Regions from separate parts of the Homo sapiens genome. Here region 2 is linked to region 1. Evidence: promoter capture Hi-C in 16 types of primary human blood cells and fetal thymus (Javierre and others, 2016). All regions are on one chromosome and are shown on one strand. Each heading gives the region's core, a stretch centred on a gene start or on the middle of the fragment in contact. The rest is flanking DNA. Distances are from core to core; before and after follow the strand shown. Region 1 holds the start of CYP24A1 (cytochrome P450 family 24 subfamily A member 1). Region 2 overlaps LOC105372664 (a long non-coding RNA gene).

The links. Contacts are between HindIII fragments. The CHiCAGO score rates a contact against its expected background, and 5 or more counts as called.
Region 2: a contact is called between a fragment that was not itself captured here and the fragment with the promoter of CYP24A1 in region 1, in 1 of 17 cell types (naive CD4 T cells). The highest score is 5.9, in naive CD4 T cells.

Annotation. Positions count from the first base shown.
Region 1 is chr20:54,171,134-54,178,146 of GRCh38, forward strand. CYP24A1 (cytochrome P450 family 24 subfamily A member 1) reads right to left here and starts at 2,853. Exons shown (of 12, transcript NM_000782.5): 1 at 2,189-2,853; 2 at 1,776-1,966; 3 at 444-537. The coding sequence starts at 2,446. RefSeq lists an enhancer at 2,483-3,076. The HindIII fragment of the contact is 2,450 bases long and covers 1,671-4,120 here.
Region 2 is chr20:52,096,196-52,103,208 of GRCh38, forward strand. It overlaps LOC105372664 (a long non-coding RNA gene), which reads left to right. Exons shown (of 3, transcript XR_936849.3): 3 at 67-286. It also overlaps a transcript of ZFP64 not described here. Among named protein-coding and RNA genes, the nearest start is that of ZFP64, 92 kb to the right of the region's middle. The HindIII fragment of the contact is 8,792 bases long and covers 1-7,013 here.

The sequences.
Region 1 (7,013 bases), core at 1,603-4,102:
AAACCCAGCTCAAATATCACTACTTAAGAACTTTACAATGTTATCTCATTTAATTCTCACAGCAAACCCGTGGGGTGGGAACTGTTACTCCCATTTTGTAGATGGGGAAACTGAGGCTTAGGGAAGGTAAGTGGTATATAGCCAGGTCTCATAGCCAGGGAGTGGAAAGCTGGGGTTCAAATCCAGGGCTGTAGAATACCAAAGTCCACACTCTCCATTGCTCCCTCATTGTGATATGACTTTAAAAGAGGGTGGAGGAGGGAGAAATAAGGGTTTGGTGGGGAGGAGGCTGTAGGAAGGAATGGAGAGAAAGAGAAGACCCCCACTTTGAATCACCCGAATTGCATTCTTTTTTCCTTTGTTCTTTGTAGCTGTGACTTGAAGCTCCACCAATATCCCTATGTCCCCACGAGCCCCAGGAAAGCTGGCCCCAGCCTGCAGACCTCATTGATTTTGTTGTCCAGCTTCATCACTTCCCCTGGTTTCATTAGTTTCTTTTGAAAGGCACTCCGGACCCGCTGCCAGTCTTCCCCTTCCCTGTGAGAGAAGCAGGAATACATTTAGAGCACACTGAAAAGAAAAGAAGGAGATGCAGAAATACTCCAGCTGCAACTTCAGGAACCATAAAATCAAACAAACACTGAGAATCATGCCAAGAAATAGCCAGAGAATATTAGCATCAGAATATTTGGGATAAAATAGTGATCATCTTTTGACAATAGTTTGACAATAGGATGAAAAAGCACCTTTCCTCCTAGTCAAAGATTGCACCAAAAAGTTGAAGTCCAGATAATTTGGGTTCAGGGATTTTGAGGTGTCCTTGCAGGGAGTGGGGCTGGGAGGCCTGGGGACAATTCCTAGCGGTAAAAGGGGGCATGTGAACACCCCATCACCAGCAACTCAGATCTGTTTGAGGGAAGAATCTTGTCTTCTTTCAACTCATTGGTGTGGGCTTCATATTTACAAAATATCTCAGATTTAGAATTTTGCCATCGCCTCCAAATAATAACATACAGTCAGAGAGTCACTGGAGTAATAAAAAGCCTTTTGCGATCGTGCACTTGTAGGCACCTGCCCCATAGCAGACCATACAGCCTGTGAAGCACCGTGAATTAATAGGGTTTTTAATTCCAGTCATTATATCCTGGAAAATATAACGATTAGGCATTACAGTTTGGGGGTAAATAAAGGTGCTAACTTGTTAAATGCTAACAACTAAAAAGCAGAAGAATCACATCCCATAGTAGCATTTGTCGACCTAAAACACAACTTTGATATCCCTCCTTATTCCACCTTTACAAGTAGAAATAAGGCATGTCCCCCAATCCTCTGCAGAAAATGTCACTGTAAAAAGCCAAAGAGGCTAACTCCTCGCTTTTGAGCTTACAAGGTGTTTCAGGGAGTTTTAAGGGATAATTTTGTTTGTATAAGATGTTTGCCTGGTACGCTGACTTCAGAACCTCATCCTGCCCAAGAGTCTGAACACCACAGTTGGTACAACCCTGTTTTGGCGTTTCTTTGATGGGAGGGTGTGGCCCTGCCCTGTTGCCAGAGAGAACGCAGGTGCTGGGTGCACAGCACGGCTTTTCCGTGGACCGACTCTAATCTGTACAAGAGCTCAGGGTTGCGATGGCACGGGAGAGGGGCTTTGGTATCCGCCCTACGTAAGAAGCTTCCAACCCCAGGGAACTCTAACTCCGCCTCTTCACAATTTCCAGGCGCCGTCAGGCTCATCAGGTCTGGCCGCATGCCCAGGTCCCTCGGATTGGACTCACAGGATCAGCAGCCCGTAGCCTTCTTTGCGGTAGTCGCGATAGGCCTTCCACGGTTTGATCTCCAGCCGCTGCGGGTACGCGCTCTCGGTGCGGTACAGCGCTTCCAGCAGGCATGGCGAGCCCAGGTGCACCGACTCAAAGGAACCCAACTTCATGCGGAAAATCTTGCCATACTTCTTGTGGTACTCCACCTGCAGCCGGCCGGGCACAGCGCGGTGTCAGCGCGCATCCTCCGCCGTGCCCGAAGCGCTTTCCCTCCTCCCGCCTCCTTCCTCCTAGGGGACCGGGGACCCTCCCTGCCCAGACGCCGAAGCGCACCATGCGCCCGAGGCGCGCATGTCGGGGAGGGTTTGGAGCGCCACTGGGAGGGCGGAAGAGGGAGGAGAGAGTCAGGGGCGCGAAAAGGGGTTTACCAGGGTGTCGTGCTGTTTCTTGAGACCCCCTTTCCAGAGAATCTGCAGCAGGCTGCCCAGCAGTGGCCAGCTGGTGGGGCCCGGCAGGGCGGCCGCGTTCTGAGTCTCGCCACCAGCTGTCAGCGGGCAGACTGGCACCTCTCGCGGCTGAGGGGACGTGTACGCCGTAGATGTCACCAGTCTCGGGGGCTGCCTCGGACTGCGCAGCTGCTGCAGGAAGGCGGCAAGCGAGCGGCTCTTGCTGATGGGGGAGCTCATGGCAGCGGGGGACACCGGAGCGCGGGAAGGCAGGAGGATGGGGTGGGGCGAGGTTGGTACGAGGTGCTAGTGGGAGTCGGGGCTTAACGATTCTGGGAAAAGGAAGCAAAGAGGGCCAGCTGGTGTGATGGAGCGGGGTGAGGCGGGACAGGCAGCAGAAAGGACCTCGGCGAGGATGCTCGACGCTGCACCACGCGACAGCCTCAGAGCATTGGTGCCTCCTTGCACTGGCCGCAGGGGCTGGAAGAGGGTGGCCGGTGTCTGGGGACCTCTTGAAAAGGGAAAGCTGGGAGTCCTCCTGTTGGTCCGCAAGGCTGACCTCTAGGGTCTGGCTGGAGCCACGGGGAGGTGTCAAGGAGGGTAGATGAGATGCTGCTGGCGCTGCGTTTCCTCCTGTCCCTCTCCATGTTCCTATGCCCAGGGACCATGCATTTATGGAGACAGAGCATGCCCTGGGTGGCCAATGAGCACGCAGAGGAGGGCGGAGTGGCCCCCGGCTGGCCAGACTCCGAGGGACGCGGGACCCAGGGGAGGGGGGGTGGAAGGAGGATGGAGTCAGCGAGGTGAGCGAGGGCGTCCGGGCCTGGGGTGACCGGGGCTATGTTCGCTGGGCGCGGGAGGTGGGGTGGGGGCGGCAGACTCCACCCCGGAGATAACCCCCAGGAAGTCATGCGAAGCCCGGAGTTCACCGGGTGTGCTTCGAACGCGCCTCCCCGCCCTCCCCCGGCGGGCAGGAGCCGGCAGCGGCGGCCGTGGTTGCCGCCCGGCGCTTGCACAATCGCGATGCCGGGCGGGCGAGGTCCCCGAGTGCGGGCCCAGAAAAGCTGCCGGCGTCTGCCAGGGCCCCGGGGAGCCCGGGCGCCTCCCGGGGAGCCAGATACCCCCAGCCTGGACTGAAGTGATTTTTTTTTTTTTTTTGCCTTTTTTTTTTTGGAGGAAGTTTGGCTTTCTGCGCCTCCCAGGGTGGGGAGGATTTGAGTCTTACTGAAATGCACCAGAAGAGGAGACTTTCTTAACTTGAGCAAGAAGGGGAGTTTGTAGAATTTCCTTCCTGCTGTTTCATGTTTGGTTGTTTTGCAGATTAAATGAATTAATGCACGTAAAGCGGCAACAACGAAGCCTTGTCTATAGTCAACAGTCAATAAAAGTTAGTTGCTGTTGTTACTTCTTTAGGAAGTTAGGAAATGCGCCTTGAGAGCGTGGCTTGCACCAACGATGCTTGAATTCAGGCTGGGCCACCTCCCCTATGTCCACTGCCCGCCTCTGTTCTTCTACACCGACTACCTTGTGCAAAGGAGGGGCACACAGAGCTTGAAACCACCGCCCCCAGTACTCCCCCTCTCCCCCAAGGTGCGTCCTAGGCAGGTCCAGTGACAAACATACACAATTTCTAGAGTTACCGCGGCTGGCAAGAGTAGAACTCGCTTTGCTAATTCAGGAACGGAAGTTGGAGATTTTTGTTGATTGTTTTAAAGTGGCTCGAATCCTTTCAACCTGATCCAATACAAAACTACCACCAGCCAGGGAGGAGGGGAGGGACATTCTGTTTCCTCGCCCTGCTTTTCAATTACGTGTCTCAGTCATTTTTGCCCCAAGTGTTGGCAAATCCTTCCCTGGTAAATTCTTTTGTAAGCCTCTAGTTTGTTTCTTAAAAATCTTTTGCAGTCCAACTTAAGCTTTAACACCATCATTTCTGATTTGTCTGGAGGGGCTAATGACTGTTTATGTTAATAAAAATAATAGCTATTGATATATACTAAACTTTATGAATCTTGTACATATTTATATATACATTGTATGGTATATATGTTACAGCATACACTATAGATTATGTTATATGCAATACACACTAAATATACATAATATAGTATAGATTGCATACAGTATGTAGATTCCATATGTTATATAATATTCTCATGAAAGCTTTCTAGGGCTTATGATAAGTCAGGCACTGAGCTAGACATTTTACATCATTTTTTCCGTTTAGTTCTCATCTCAGCCCAATGTCAATAAAATGAAATAAAATAAAAAACAAAAAAAAATCAAAGACAAACAAAAAAACCCTTGACTCTTACAGAGCTAAGTAATTTGCCCAATGTCACAGACGTTACCATTGGCTCAGGTGGGATTCAGACCCAATATTTTCTGATTCTAGGCTGGGCCCTAAATAGTACACCCATATACATCATGCTATGTTATGTCACTTTTTCTTAAACCAGAGTGTCTCAGAATATTGGAAGTATTTCTTAAATGAGAATTATCACCAAGAGGAAAGTGGGGGGGATCAGAATGCCTACCATGTCAGTATGTGTGGGGCAGTGTGAGGCAAACGTTTTATGTGCTGACGGTGGTGAAAAAGAATAGCTCTGGCTGAGTGTAGTGGCTCACGCCTGTAATCCCAGCACTTTGGGAGGCCGAGGTGGGCGGATCACCTGAGGTTGGGAGTTCGAGACCAGCCTGGCCAACATGGTGAAAGCCCATCTCTACCAAAAATACAAAAATTAGCCGGGTGTGGTGGTGCATGCCTGTAATCCCAGCTACTCAGGAGGCTGAGGCAGGAGAATCGCTTGAACTCGGGAGGCGGAGGTTACAGTGAGCCGAGATCGCCCCACTGCACTCCAGCCTGGGCGACAGAGTAAGACTCTGTCAAAAAAAAAAAAAAAAAAATAGCTCTAAACAGAAGGTCTATGTTTTTCACTACTGAGTACCTTGATTCTGGTGAGGTGCTTGGACACAGTGAATGGTCTATTGTTATTTCAACTATTGAGTAATTTTCCCAATTATTCTTTCTTTTCCTTCTCTTTTGGCAGATATGCACAAGGAGAAGAGGAAATAATTTCAGACTTGCTAGGTTTTTCTAAGAGTTTCATGCTATATAGCTTTATATACTCTAAATAGATATTTAAATATATGGGCAATCATTAGTTACATGATAGCTAAAAAGAAAATTCCTGTTTCAGGGATATTGGTTTCTCATGTTCAGTGGAGAAAATCCCCAGTAATTTTTAGACCGGATTGCAGAGGAAAGCAAGACTAGTTCTTTGAAACTTCATTGACCCCAATACATACCTGTCCTTGAGAAGTATGATTAAATTCAAAATGACTATTTTTGATCCCGCTTCCAGGAATTCACTATTCCTCATCTGTCCTCATCCTTCACTCACTACTTAGCCTCTATGAGTCATCCGGATAGGGATCTTGTCAGGAATTACTAATGAGAGATCTTGAAATGCCTCATAAATGCCTGCCATCATTACTGAGACAGGCTCAGGCCCTCTGTTTTGCTCTGGGAAATCTTACCAAGTCCTGGAATGGATAATTAGACTTCAGCCCTCATACCAAGGGACCACCCATGACAACATGTGTGTGTGAGTTCACACACCTGTGTACACATGTATAATGAGGGTGGGGTGGAGGAGCCTGTAGGAGTTCAAGGGCTGGTTTCTCTGCACTGGAAAATACAAAACACTTTCAAGTATATGCAATAGTAATATAGTTTTGTGCTTAAAACTGCTTAGGCCTGGCATGATGGCTCACGCCTGTAATTCCAGCAATTTGGAAGGGTGAGGCAGGCAGATCACTTGAGGTCAGGAGTTCAAGACCAGCCTGGCCAACATGGTGAAACCCTATCTCTACTAAAAAATACAAAAATTAGCCAGATGTTGTGGCAGATGCCTGTAATCCCAGCTACACGGGAGGCTAAGGCAGGAGGATTGCTTGAACCCGGGAGGTGAAGGTTGCAGTGAGCTGAGATCATGCCACTGCACTCCATCCTGGGCGACAGAGCAAGACTCCATCTCAAAAAAACAAACACAACAAACTTTGCCTAAACTGGGGCGTGAGTACTAGATCCACTTTCCGTTGCGGAAACCTGGAGGACTTACTTGCCGCATTTGTTAAATGGACAGTGTTGGTTCCAACCTCACGGTAAAGTTCAAGCTTCATGGAAACAGGAGTAGTAACAATAGCCAATTTCACGGGGCTCCTGTGAGAACACTGCAAATAAAATTCCTACCACAGTAAAGTGCCCAGCAAATATGACCTTGTAGCATTACTGTATTGCATGCCTTGGTTTTTTCAAAGTCCATAGAAGGGAGGCAATTTAGATGTCTCTGACTCAAGAAACTGTATACTTGAATAAAGCCAAAGGAAGATTAGCAATGAAATGCTGGTGAATTCAAATCCCAGCTCAGCCACTGAGCAGCTAGAAAAACCAGGGACAATTTACTTGTCTCTCTCTCAGCCTTAGTTTCCTCTTCTCAAAAGTGGCGATCAGGACGGGTGCAGTGGCTCACACCTGTAATCCCAGCACTTTGGGAGGCCAAGGCAGGCGGATCACCTGAGGTCAGAGTTCGAGACCAACCTGGCCAACATGGCAAACTCCTGTCTCTACTAAAAATACAAAAATTAGCTGGGCATGGTGGTGGGTGCCTGTAATTCCAGCTGCTTGGTAGGCTGAAGCAGGAGAATCACTTGAACCTGGGAGGTCGAGGTTGCAGTGAGCCGAGATAGCGCCACTGCACTCTAGTCTGGGCGACAGAGTGAGACTCCATCTCAAAAAAAAAAA
Region 2 (7,013 bases), core at 2,002-4,501, 2.1 Mb before region 1:
AACCATCCCTCAGGCCCCCTTGGTACTCGGTGTGGCCATGACTAAGTCCCGCTCATGTTCCCCTAGGTCACAAGGGCCGCTGCTTCTGGGTCACAGCCCAAGGGAGGCATGCCATGGGCTCCCTGGCCTGCTTCCATTGCCTGCTGGCTAAGCGATGCAGAGAACTACAGCAGCTGCCTCAGACCCAGAGGCTAAGCCAAGTGTTCAGGATGGCAGAGCCATTGGACCAGCTGTGGACTCTATGCCTCTGAAGATGTACTCAAGAAATAAACTGGATTACGTTTAAGCCACTGAGACTGGTTTCTGAAAGAACAAACCAATATTCTCGCTCAAACATGCAAGTATAGGATTTGTACCACAGATTAAGGGTTGGCAAAGTGTTTTGTAAAGGGCTAAGTAGTATTTTAGGCAGGATGGGCATGGTGGCTCATGCCTGTAATTCCAGCACTTTAGGGGGCCAAGGCAGGTGGATCACCTGAGGTCAGGAGTTCGAGACCAGCCTGGCCAACATGGCAAAACCCCGTCTCTACTAAAAATAGAAAAATTAGCTGGGCAAGGTGGCAGGCGCCTGTAATCCTAGCTATTCAGGAGGCTGGGGCAGGAGAATCACTTGAACCTGGGAGGCAGGGGTCGCAATGAACTGAGATTGCACCACTGCATTCTAGCCTGGGTGACAGAGCAGGACTCTGTCTCAGAGAAAAAAACAAAACAAAAAGATAGTATTTTAGGCTTTGTGCACCCTACAGTCCCTGTAACAACTACCTCTTGTAAGGCCAGAAAGCTGCAAGCAATAGGTAAATGAAGGAGCATGCCAACAGGCTGAGTTGCCCATGGGCTGCAGTTTGTAATCCTGGCATAGATTATGGCACTCCTTTGCTTCAGCAGGTCTTATTTCTCTTCTCAGCAGCTGGCTGCCCTAAAAAAAAAAGCACCTTTAAGAAGCCACCTTATTGCTCTAAGATGACTATAGCCACAGGCTCTGTGTAGCTCATCCTGGGAATCACTTCATCTTCATGTCACAGCCCTTTTGCTCCTTCTCCCAAGCCCACCCCACTAGACTGAGTTTCATGAGGCAGATGAGGCAGAGACTGTCCTGTTCATTACTGTGTCCCTAGCGCTTAATTCACATTCACGTCCCATCTTTCTTACTGAGCTGTTGAACAGAATGGATACCTACCCGTGTGGATTCTGAGATGGCGGTCCAAGTCTTTCATGCCATGGACAGTTTTGAAGTGGCAACCTAGAAAAGAAAAATAGATTTTTTTTTTTTTTTTTTGGAGACAGAGTTTTGCTCTGTCGCCCAGGCTGGAGTGCAGTGGCTCCATCTCGGCTCACTGCAACCTCCGCCTCCCGGGTTCAAGAGATTACCCTGTTTCAGCCTCCTGAGTAGCTGGGATTACAGGCGCCTGCCACCACGCCTGGCTAATTTTTGTATTTTTGATAGAGATGGGGTTTCACCATGTTGGCCAGGCTGGTCTGGTCTCAAACTCCTGAACTCAGGTGATCTGCCCGCCCCGGCTTCCCAAAGTGCTGGGATTACAGGTGTGAGCCACCATGCCTGGCCTGAAGAATACAATTCTTAGAAGAACCTCAGTTGAGTGTGGTGGCCCACACCTGCCATCCCCGAGCTTGGGAGACCAAGGTGGGAGGATCACTGGAGGCCAGAAGTTTGAGACCAGCCTGGGTAACGTAGAGACCCCCGCCCCCTATTTAAAAAAAAAAATTAGCCAGACATGGTGGTGCATGCCTGTAGTCCCAACTACTCAGGGGGCGGATGAGGGAAGATCACATGCACCCAGTGAGTTGGAGGCTGCAGTGAGTTATGATCACACCACTATACTCCAGCCTTAACAGAGCAAGACCTTGTCTTGGGATGCTGAGGCAGGAGAATTGCTAGAACCTGAGAGGCGGAGGTTGCAGTGAGCCGAGATCACACCATTGCACTCCAGCCTGGGCAACAAGAGTGAAACTGTCTCCAAAAAAAAAAAAAAAAAGAGTCCATATATGTATAACCTCAGGGTGGAAGCTACTATGAATCCAATGTTCTGGTGAGTCCCACGCTGAGCTCTGGATGCTACAGGCCTCTTAGGCCCCCCAGGGAAGGCTGTTGTGTGCTGATGTAGATACTGGCATGTTGTCAGCAAACAAGAGTAACATGAGCAGGCAGCTCAGAGATTCACGTAGGGCTTGCAGATCAGTGCTTGGCTCAGAAGCGGCTCAGCACGCAGGGTTTTACTCTTACCTGGGTAGCAACAGTTGAACGTCCTCTCTCCAAGGGTGGCCATTTGTTCCCTTGCCTCTGAGGGAAGAGTGATGACAGGGGCCTTCGGAGTGTCAGTGCTTTCAGTGGAGAGGCAGTTTGCTTTTGGAACATCATCATCAAGTTCTGAAGCTGAAATTGAGGCATAGTTTTGCTTAGTTTCTCATTTATAACCACCATGCTAAGTCTTAGAATACAGTAGGTTTGGGCTTATTTCACCTCCCTTCACCTTTCCAGAAAAAATTTAAAAAAAATGAAAGCCATGTGACCAGGCGGGGTGGCTCATGCCTGTAATCCCAGCACTTTGGGAGGCTGAGGTTGGTGGAGCACGAGTTCAGGAGTTCGAGACCAGCCTGGCCAATATGGTGAAACCCTGTCTCTACTAAAAATACAAGAATCAGCCAGGCATGGTGGTATGTGCCTGTAGTCCCAGCTACTCGGGAGGCTGAGGCAGGAGAATCGCTGGAACCTGGGAGGCAGAGGTTGCAGTGAGCCGAGATCATGCCACTGCACTCCAGCCTGGGCAACAGAGCAAGACTCTGTCTTTACCAAAAAAAAAAAAAAAAAGCAAGCCATGTATGCTCTGTCTTGCAAAAGTCCTCTTCCCCTTACTACGGTTTCCAAGAAGTACAGGGGACAGGACACTGTCACATAACAGGGAAACTGGCAAAATCTAAACTAAAAAACATATGAGTACTTCTTAAATGGCATGAAGACCTAGTTTTTTCTAACAATTTCTAATCCATCCCAGGCTGATATTTCTGTAAAATATGATAAACAAGAATTAGGGGAGAGGTGGAATAAGATAAAAAGAGCCCAATCATTAGATACAGCAAAAAGCTGGATGCCATGGCAATGTCAAACTTTTTTTTTTTTTTTTAAGATGCTTACTCTGGATTTCTGATTTGTTTTGCCTCAGTTCAGCAAAAGGTCACAGACCACACATCACTGATCTCCAGGATAAAACAGTTGTTTCAACAAATAACTTGAAAGAAGAAAGATGGAAGAGGAGAAAAAGCAAAGACTGAGAGACTTGAGGTGGTCGACAATATCGGGACTTTACTTGGCTCCTGATTAGAATATGCTGGAAAAGCTGAGATGGTAAGAAGTGTGCTCACTCACTGCAAGTTTGCTACAGGGGTTTTATACTTTGGTGTGAAAATGGAATTAGAGTTTAAAGAGCATTCCCCATAGTCTAAGGATGAATGTTGAAACATTTACAAGTTGTATGATATGTGAATTTGTCTTCAAAAATAATCCAGGGCAGGGAGAGAGCTGGCATAAGGAGAAATGAGATTGACCACATGCAATTAATGGTTGAAGTGGATCAATGGATGAGAATTCACTATAGTCTATTTTTAGGAAGGTTGAACTAGGTGAAATCGCTATTTTTGTTAGCCAAAACGGTCAAATAATTTCATGTTTCAATCTAATATGTAGGTTTTAAGATTCCTACAGCAAAGATTAAGTACTAGAAGATTCTGAAATATCTCAAAATAGACTTAAATCTAAAAGGAAAAAAGGTCCCATCAAGGTCTGAAGTTTTTTCTTTTTTTGAGACGGAGTCTCGCTCTGTCACCCAGGCTGGATTGCAGTGGTGTGATCTTGGCTCACTGCAAATTCCGCCTCCCGGGTTCACGCCATTCTCCTGCTTCAGTCTCCCAACGGGGACTACAGGCACCCACCACCATGCCCGGCTAATTTTTTGTATTTTCAGTAGAGATGGGGTTCCACTGTGTTAGCCAGGATGGTCTCGATCTCCTGACCTTGTGATCCACCCACCTCGGCCTCCCAAAGTTTTTTTTTTTGAAACAGAGTCTCACTCTGTCGCCCAGACTGGAGTGCAGTGGTACCATCTCAGCTCACTGCAACCTCTGCCTCCTGGGTTCAAGCGATTCTCCTGCCTCAGACTCCCAGGTAGCTGGGATTACAGACGTGCGCCACCACGCCTGCCTAATTTTTGTATTTTTAGTAGAGACAGGGTTTCACCATGTTGGCCAAGTTGGTCTTGAACTCCTGACCTCAAGTGATCCGCCCATCTCAGCCTCCCAAAGTGCTGGGACTATAGCCACGAGCCACTGTGTACAGCCATCTAAAGTCTTAGAAGATTGACTAGCTTATGAATTATAGGCCAAGGTCTGGGACTTTCTCTGTCCTAAGGTTATTACAAAAGGTGGATTATCACTTTTATTGAGAAGTTTGTGCGGGTGAAGGAATCTTAGCATGAGAGGCTGTAGAGCACAGTGGTGAGGGCTTCAGTTTTAGGCAGAGGGTTTGCTCAGCTATGTGCTGTGCAACTATTGGCAAGCTACTTAACCTTTCTGAGCTTCAGTTTACTCGTTTGCAAAAGGAGATTACATGCCTCAGAGTTGCAGAGTTAAACAAGATGAAAAAATATATAAGTTCTCAGTACAGTGTCATCTGAGTAAATACAATTGCGTGGCTTCAGATGTCGCAAGTGAGGACTACAGATTTCACATCCTAGCAGTTGTGCTCGAAGCCCCTTAACAAGTGATCTAGTCCAGTGGCTCTCAACTGGGGGCCATTCTACCACCAAAGGACACTCAGCAATGCCTGGGAACATTTTCAATTGTCATGATTCTGTTTGCATGCATGTTTGAGAATGGCATCTAGTGGGTGAAGGCCAGGGATGCTGCTAGACATCCTATAGGGCATAGGACAGCCCCCACAAGGAAACGATGCAGCCCCAAAGGTCAATAGGGCTGGGGTTGAGAAAGTCTGCAGTAGTCCTACTCCCAATGTTTCTTCCAAGTGTAATCCTGATACTATCTGTGTCACAATCACCTAGATCATGGGTTCAGTGTAGTTTCCCAGGCCTTACCCTATACTCACTGAAAACTTAGGGGCAGGAGGAGGGGTGGTAGTGTGGATCAAGTAAGGACTTGCGATTCCAGGGACTTGCGATTTTTTTTTGAGACAAGGTCTCGCTGTCACCCAGGCTGGAGTGCAGTGGCACCAACATGGCTCACTGCAAACTCCGCCTTCCAGGCTCAAGCCATCCTCCTACCTCAGCCTCCCGAATAGCTGGGACCACAGGCATGCACCACCACATGCCTAGTTTTTGTATTTTTGTATTTTTTTGTAGTTTTGTATTTTTTGTAGTTTTGTTTTTATAGAGACAGGGTTTTGCCATGTTGCCCATGCTGGTCTCAAACTCCTGAGCTCGAGCAATCTGCCCACCTTAACCACTCAAAAGTGCTGGGATTACAGGCATGAGCCACCACACCTGACCTCAGGGCCTTGCATTTTTGAAGCACTTGCCAGATGATTCTGCTGTATTACTTGTAAGTCCTTGCTACTCAAAGGGTGGTCCCTAGAGCACCAGCATCACCTGAGAGCTTGTTAAAAATGCAGAGTCTCAGCCGGGTGCCGTGGCTCATGCCTGTAATCCTAGCATTTTGGGAGGCTGAGGCAGGCGTCCCATCCTGGCTAACACAGTGAAACCTGTCTCTACTAAAAATACCAAAAAAAAAAAAAAAAAAAAAATTAGCCAGGTGTGGTGGCATGTGCCTGTAATCCCAGCTACTCAGGAGACTGAGGCAGGAGAATCGCTTGAACCTGTGGGGCAGAGGTTGCAGTGAGCCCAGATCGTGCCACTGCACTCCAGCCTGGTGAGAGTAACTCCATCTCCAAAAAAAAAAAAAAAAAAGGCAGCAGTCTCAGGCCCTACTCCAGACTTACAGAACCAATCTGTACTTTAGCCAGATCCCCAGGTGATTCCTGAGCACAGCACATTACAATTTGAGAAGCACAGCTCACAGCCAGTGGTTCTCAGACGTCAGCGTGTATCAGAATTGCCTAGAAGGCTACTTAAAACACAGGTGGCAGGGGCTCCCATTTGGAGTTCCTGATTGAGTAGGTATGGGGTGGAGCCTGCGATTTTTCACTTCTAACAAGTTCCCAGTTGATGCCGATGCTGGTCTGGGAACCATACTTTTGAGTCTCTTGCTCTGTGAGCAAGAAACTGGCTCAGATGCTCAAGGTTGCAGGACTGGAAGTTTTCAGCTCATTGGAACCCACACTTGCCAGATCTGCAACCCATCCTATGTCCCTCAGGGACAGACACAAACAAAGCCTCATTACATAGCAACTCACATACTAGAAGAGAAAACCATTAAACTCTTGAGGGTTTTAATTCCACAGAAGTCAAGCAAGACTGAAAACAAATCTAAGTGAGGCACTGTATAACACAGTGGTTTGGGGAACAGACTGGGAAACCAGCTGATAAGTTTCAATTCCAGTTTTACCATTAGCTGTGTCCCACTGGATAAGCTACTCAACTTCCCCGTTCCTCAGTTTCCACATCTGTGAAATGGGTATTATGGCCGTCTCATTAGCTTAGATGAAGTTCTTTAGTATATGTAAGAGAACCTCATGTATTAGTCAATACTGTATAAATGCTATTAGTGTTATTCACTGATATACACACGTAAGATTCTACCAGATTCTCAGGGGGAGAAAGATGCATGTTTTCAACGCAAACTAGAAAAGTGAGAGAGAGGTGGGTTAAAGGATGACCCAGATAGAGCCTCTGATGGGGAGGTGTGAGGGGCCTCCGATTTCTTTTACGTTTAGACACCCAGGAAACCAAAGAAGGCCTGAAGCCCACTCTCCTGGGAAAGGTGCAGCTGGGGGAGACCCTCTGCCTCTGGAAGTGGGGGTGGGCCGCATTTGACTATTAGAAACCAGGTTAGCATGGCGAGGGTTTTAACTCCTGGGGAAACGGATGATG